2 separate regions of the Homo sapiens genome follow, and region 1 is linked to region 2. Evidence: promoter capture Hi-C in human tissues and cell types (Jung and others, 2019). All regions are on one chromosome and are shown on one strand. Each heading gives the region's core, a stretch centred on a gene start or on the middle of the fragment in contact. The rest is flanking DNA. Distances are from core to core; before and after follow the strand shown.

What was found. Contacts are between HindIII fragments. The study calls those that stand out against the background at their distance.
Region 1: a contact is called between a fragment that was not itself captured here and the fragment with the promoter of MPEG1 in region 2, in 1 of the 25 tissues and cell types used here (thymus).

Annotation. Positions count from the first base shown.
Region 1 is chr11:59,600,613-59,604,012 of GRCh38, reverse strand. It overlaps OSBP (oxysterol binding protein), which reads left to right. Exons shown (of 14, transcript NM_002556.3): 4 at 2,175-2,373; 5 at 2,628-2,730; 6 at 3,140-3,194; 7 at 3,386-3,400. Among named protein-coding and RNA genes, the nearest start is that of MIR3162, 7.2 kb to the right of the region's middle. The HindIII fragment of the contact is 4,373 bases long and covers 1-3,400 here.
Region 2 is chr11:59,211,439-59,215,074 of GRCh38, reverse strand. It overlaps MPEG1 (macrophage expressed 1), which reads left to right and starts at 2,148. Exons shown (of 1, transcript NM_001039396.2): 1 at 2,148-3,636. The coding sequence starts at 2,210. It also overlaps the pseudogene RN7SL42P. RefSeq lists an enhancer at 1,972-2,171. The HindIII fragment of the contact is 9,754 bases long and covers 1-3,636 here.

The sequences.
Region 1 (3,400 bases), core at 683-3,182, 390 kb before region 2:
GGATGGAAAGACATGTACAGATTTTTAAAATATTAAAGAAGAATCAATAGGACTTGATAACTGGCTGTGAGGAAGGAAGCAAAAGTAAGAGAAGGATGCCCCTTAATTTTCTGGCTTGGACAACTGGGAGGGCCCTGAAAGTTGGATTGGGGAACATCAAAGGGAAAAGCAGAGACAACATAGGAAACTGATGAGGCTGGGTGTGGTGCCTCACACCTGTAGTCCCAGGTGTGGATCACTTGAGCCTGGGAGTTGAAAGATTAGCCTGAGCAACATGGCAGAATCCCACCTCTATATTAACTACAAAAATTAGCTGGGCATTGTGGCTCATGCCTGTAGTCCCAGCTACTTGGGAGGCTCAGGTAGGAGGATCACTTGAACTTGTGAGGTTGAGGCTGCAGTGAGCCATGATTGTGCCACTGCACTCCAACCTGGGTGACAGAGCAAGAACATGTCTCAAAAAAAAAAAAAAAAAAAAAAAAACTGAAGGTGATGAGTTCACTTTGGGATGCATTAATTTTGAAGTTACTTTGAGCCGTTGAATAGGGAGTTGGATATTCTATTCTGAATCTCAGTAAGTGCTGGGCTAGAATTAGTGATTTAGTAGCCATTAGCCTATAGGCAGTGGTTGAAACCATGGGAGTAAATATCCTGTTTACCTTTTAGCTTCTCTGTAACAGGGAATAGATTTTTAAGCTTACGTTGCTTGCCTCCTTCCTTTATTTATTTATTAAGCAAACTTTATCAGATCCCTATTATGTACAGAGCAACTAAATTAGGAGCTGGAGATCTATATATGAATAAACTCAAAAATGTGTTTTTAAATTGCATGTGATCCATCTGGAGAGATAGAAAATCAGTCACGATACTGCTGTGCATGTGTAAAATAGAAGTTTGTGCAAAATGCAGTGGAAATGTAGAGAAGAGACTGGCTGCTTATGAGACTGGTGGGGAGATGTCACAAAGTAGCATTTGCCATAGATCTTAAAGAAAGATTTGCCCTTTCTTAGAAACAGGGGATAGGGATGGACATTCTAGGTAGAGTGAATAGCATATGCTGAGGTATGTAGGCCTGAAAGAAATCTGTGTCCACGACTGGGCACAGTGGCTCATGCCTGTAATCCCAACACTTTGGGAGGCTGAGATGGGTAGATCACTTGAGTCCGTGAGTTCGATACTAGTCTGGGTAACAAGGCAAAATTCCATCTCTACAAAATACAAAAATTAGTCGGCCATGGTGGTACATAACTGTAGTCCCAACTGCTCAGCGGGGCTAAGGTAGGAGGATCACCTGAGCCCGACGAGGTTGAGGCTGCAGTGAGCTGTGATCTGCACTCTACTCCAGACTGTGCCAGAAATCTGTGTGCAAGAAATGGTGAGCAGTTCAGTGTGGCTGCATTGTAGGGTGCAGTGCTAAGTACACATGCCTGGCGAGGAGAATACAAGGCAGGTGATGGCCGTATTATGAAGGTCTCTTTATGTTCATAACCAGTAGTTAGTATTTGATCCTCATGTTAGTGGGGAGCCAGTGGAGGGACTTGATATAATCATATTTGTGGGTTTTTTCTCTAAACCTCTTCTTTGATTTTTCAAGTAGGCTTCTAATATTTTTCTTTTTAAACCTTCTTCCTGCACACTGAAGGCTCCTAATTTTTAAGGTCAGTTGTTTCTCTTAGTGACCAAAATAAAAACCAAATGAGTTTCCCCATACTTGGTCTACCTCAGTGTGGATTCTCTGTTCTCAGTGTCTGAAGTCCTTAGCTTTCAGTTACTTGAGTTTAGTCAAGAATTTGTTGAAAGCAGTTATCCTGTGTGTGCTCTCATCCTTCTTTCAGTCAGCAGTTCTCTACTTTTGGTGCAGTTCACATACCTGCTCTTTTTGATGTTGTCACAAATACTTCGTCTGGGTTTACTGCTCACTTGGCATTTGTTTGGTTCTCGTGACCAGGAAAGTGTAAAAGAACCATGACAACCATATTTACTTTTTTTCTGGGTTTGACCTTGATTTCAGCGTGGAGCTAGCTGTCCCTGATACCTTGGCATAAAAGGGAAAGTCTTTCATTGTAATTTGCCAGTTAAAAGTTCCCAGAATAAGGTTACTCAATGGGCTTGCAGAAGCCTGAGGGGAAACTCTGACTAGTTGAGCTGACACAGTCAACGCTTTCTCCATACAGGCCTGCAGAGATTTCCTCATGTTAGCCCAGACCCATAGTAAAAAATGGCAAAAGTCACTACAGTATGAAAGAGACCAGCGTATCCGACTGGAAGAAACCCTCGAGCAGCTGGCGAAGCAGCATAATCACCTGGAGAGGGCCTTCCGAGGAGCCACGGTGCTGCCGGCAAACACTCCTGGCAATGTGGGTTCTGGTAAAGGTAAGACACTTAGCTCTCAGGTAGCCTGGTCTAAGGTGAGCCAGATGGTTTTCTGCAGTTGATAGGAGAACTCCAAACTCTTCACAGTCAATGAGTCATGTGAAATGGAATTGGAACCCATTGATTTATTCTGGATTTTCCACTGCTTTCTACCATTTTTTGCTGTGTTTGTGGTTAGTATTTAAAAGAACTTGCTATATCAGACATTTGGTAAAGATAACCAAAGTCAACAAATGGGGCTTTTCTTCTTGTAGATCAGTGCTGCTCTGGCAAAGGGGACATGAGCGATGAAGATGATGAGAATGAATTTTTTGATGCACCTGAGATCATCACCATGCCTGAAAATTTGGGCCACAAGTGAGTTATCCTTGATTGTTGAAGCAAATAAACATATCTTCACCATCAATATGGTGGTATTTTAGCATCATATTTTAACCATCAAAAGGTTAAAAACATTTCAGTGAGAGTATTATAATTGTCAATATTGAATCTGGGCCCTTTTCCCTTTTTTTTTTTTTTTTTTTGTCTCAAGATCTCTTTGTAGAATGGGCCCTTTTTCTTAAGTAAGTGAAAAAATGTCAGCTTTTTTACGTAAACAAATTCTCCAGAGATACTTAAATTCATTCCTACTCTAAATGTCGTCATTTGATCACCCATCAATAAGTTTATACAGTGTACTTGGCATTCTGCTTTGTAAAGAAATGTCCAGGACCACACTCTAGTTCTGGTCTTTGTTCTAATTCTCCTGTGTTTCCCATCTGTACAGACGTACTGGCAGCAATATCAGTGGAGCCAGCAGTGACATCAGCCTTGATGAACAGGTAATTCTTATATGGGAGATCTCAGAGGTGAGGGACGTGGGTTGTGATTCCCAAGGATTTTTTTTTTTTTTTTGTGAAGTGCTAAGAGAAACTGATTTTTTTTTCTTTTTTTAGCACGGGGGAAGGGAAGGTTATAAATACCAGGTTTTCTGTTCTTTGTGGGTGGTTGAATGGCTTTGTTTTGCTCTCAGTACAAGCATCAGCTG
Region 2 (3,636 bases), core at 899-3,398:
TGAGCTCTCAACAGGGTCTACTAAAGAGAAAGCAGAGGGTAACAAATTGTCAGCTTGTCTCCAAAGCAGTGTGAGAGTATTCTAATTTTGATGAACCATCCCAGAAATAGTTTGAAGAGAAGTATGTAGGTATTTCAACAGACTTATTGGAAGTACTCAAGGGCATTCAACTCTCATTTTTCTAATTCTGGGATCATGCTGCTGAGGTATAAATTTATGGCTAACTGATTTATAAATTAACTAGAACATCCTGTGCAAAGATTTGGTTCTTTAGCCAAATACAGACTAGGCACTGGTTCATAAATTAATCCCTCTTAGGTGGCTGGTGTCACTTCCCAGAAGCATGATAACTGTGGCACAAATAGAACCAGAATGGCCAGGTGTGGTGGTGCATGACTGCAGTCCCAGATTCCTGGGAAGCTGATGTGGGAGGATTGCTTGAATCCATGAGTTCTGGGCTGTAGTGTGCTATGCCAGTTGGGTGTCTGCACTAAGCTCAGCATCAATATGGTGGCCTCCTTGGAGCAAATCACCAGGTTGCCTAAGGAGGGCTAAACGGGTCCAGGTTGGAAATGGAGCAGGTCAAAACTCCTATGCTGATTAGTAGTGGGACCATGCCTGTGAATAGCTACTGCACTCAAGCCTGGGCAATAAGCAAGACCCTGTCTTGGAAAAAAAAATATACCCGGAATGCAGTATTTCTAGATTTATAGAACACCATCATGGTTTTGATAATAACTGGTGAAGCCCAGCCTGGGAAGCAAGATAACTAGCCTCATTCTTTCTAAAAACACTTCTTTGCTGCATTAATAACCAACAGAGGAATTCAACTCCTTGGAACCTTCCTTCCAGGATGCATACAGGTGATGGTGTAGTGATACCTGTGAATTGCAACATGACTTTTTCAGTCTCAGTACTGTATCTAGTTCATGGTATAATCTTGGGAATGTTAAGGATGCAACTGGGAGCTTCACTAAGTCCTCTGGATTCCCTGGCTACCACTAAGCATACTAAGACATAGCCTAATTGTCCCAAAGAATTAACAGAGTTGGGTTTCAATCAAACCTGTCACCATTGTTTTAAATTATGGGCTCTAATAGAGCTGGCATTGGAACTTGAAAAGAAACTCATGTAATTATATTCTTCTAATGATATAGCAAATGAATTTTTGCTTTTAGAAAAAATATTGGGTAGTGAAGAGCCACATTCTTTTTTATCCACCTAAACTGATTACACACACTTAGCAATGGAACAAAAAATTAAAGGTATAACAGGTACCAACTTCATACAAAATGCACACACACAGAGGATATATAAATGTGTGTACACATACACATATGTTCCTTGGCCCCTGTCTGCTGTTGATAAATCAAAATCTAGATAATAGTGTGGTTTTGTCTTGAACATTTCTATCTGAATGAAAACAACACAGTGTAGGAGTTCCTTGCCCTCGCTTTGAATGCTTAGGACAATGCAAATTGGGGTTTCCCAGCATATTGCAACCGAATCCTCTTCAGGCCCTGTCAGCTGTGCTCCAGACAATGCCATCCCCAAAGACAGAATTGCTATGGTTCATAACAGTGAAACCCACAGGACAAGTGTCCAAGAGTTTCACTCCTTTCTTTTGTGGAAACAGCCTCCACCCTCAGGCAAAGAGGAAACCCAGGGTTGGCCTTGACTAACAGCTTGCATAGGTATGGTGGAGCCAGGGTGTTTCAGTAAGGGTGGTGTGGTCATTTGCCTCTGCATTTATAGTAAAAGAAAACTGATAATGGAGTCCCAAGAGACAGCAGTCAGGGAAAATATGAAACATCAAGTCCAAGAGAATGAGCAAAAAGCAAAGCCAAACTTTCTGGTGGAGGAAGCAGTAGGGTGTGGGGTCGGGATTTTTTTCTAAGTGCACACCCCTGCAGCAGAGTAACCAGCCAGAGCTGGGGGAAAAATTAGGATAGCTACCTGTTAGGCATGTAGGGGTGTGTTTGCATGTTTAGTACGGCATAAATTCTTCAAAGACCTGATGGTCTTTAATATTCCAACCAACTCTCGTTTCCCCATTTTGTCATTAAATTAGCTTAAAGAGGAACTTGTAGCTTTTAGAGAACTCATGAGTTTTCCGCTTCATCATCTGCTTCTGTTTTCTCCATCTTAGTTTGCCCAAAGCTTGCTGGCCGCTGTGTAGGGCTGGTGAGTGGCTGGGGCTGTCTGAGCCATGAACAACTTCAGGGCCACCATCCTCTTCTGGGCAGCGGCAGCATGGGCTAAATCAGGCAAGCCTTCGGGAGAGATGGACGAAGTTGGAGTTCAAAAATGCAAGAATGCCTTGAAACTACCTGTCCTGGAAGTCCTACCTGGAGGGGGCTGGGACAATCTGCGGAATGTGGACATGGGACGAGTTATGGAATTGACTTACTCCAACTGCAGGACAACAGAGGATGGACAGTATATCATCCCTGATGAAATCTTCACCATTCCCCAGAAACAGAGCAACCTGGAGATGAACTCAGAAATCCTGGAATCCTGGGCAAATTACCAGAGTAGCACCTCCTACTCCATCAACACAGAACTCTCTCTTTTTTCCAAAGTCAATGGCAAGTTTTCCACTGAGTTCCAGAGGATGAAGACCCTCCAAGTGAAGGACCAAGCTATAACTACCCGAGTTCAGGTAAGAAACCTCGTCTACACAGTCAAAATCAACCCAACTTTAGAGCTAAGCTCAGGTTTTAGGAAGGAACTCCTTGACATCTCTGACCGTCTAGAGAACAACCAGACGAGGATGGCCACCTACCTGGCAGAACTCCTGGTGCTCAACTATGGCACCCACGTCACCACCAGTGTCGACGCTGGGGCTGCTCTTATTCAGGAGGACCACCTCAGGGCCTCCTTCCTCCAAGACAGCCAGAGCAGTCGTAGTGCCGTGACCGCCTCTGCTGGACTTGCCTTTCAAAACACCGTGAACTTCAAATTTGAGGAAAACTATACCTCGCAGAATGTCCTCACCAAGAGCTACCTCTCAAACCGAACCAACTCCAGGGTGCAGAGCATTGGAGGGGTTCCTTTTTACCCAGGCATCACCCTCCAGGCCTGGCAGCAGGGTATCACCAACCACCTGGTGGCCATCGACCGCTCTGGCCTGCCGCTGCATTTCTTCATCAACCCCAACATGCTACCTGACTTGCCAGGCCCCCTGGTGAAGAAGGTGTCAAAGACAGTGGAAACTGCTGTGAAGCGCTATTATACATTCAACACCTACCCTGGCTGCACAGATCTCAATTCTCCCAACTTCAATTTTCAGGCCAACACGGATGATGGCTCCTGCGAGGGGAAAATGACCAACTTCTCTTTCGGTGGGGTTTATCAGGAATGCACTCAGCTCTCAGGGAATAGGGATGTCCTCCTCTGCCAAAAGTTGGAGCAGAAGAATCCACTCACTGGTGATTTCTCCTGCCCCTCTGGCTACTCCCCGGTGCACCTGTTATCCCAGATCCACGAGGAGGGTTACAACCACCTGGAGTGTCATCGAAAGTGCACTCTCCTCGTCTTCTGCAAGACCGTGTGTGAAGATGTGTTCCAGGTGGCAAAAGCTGAATTTAGGGCTTTTTGGTGTGTGGCCAGCAGCCAAGTACCTGAAAACTCAGG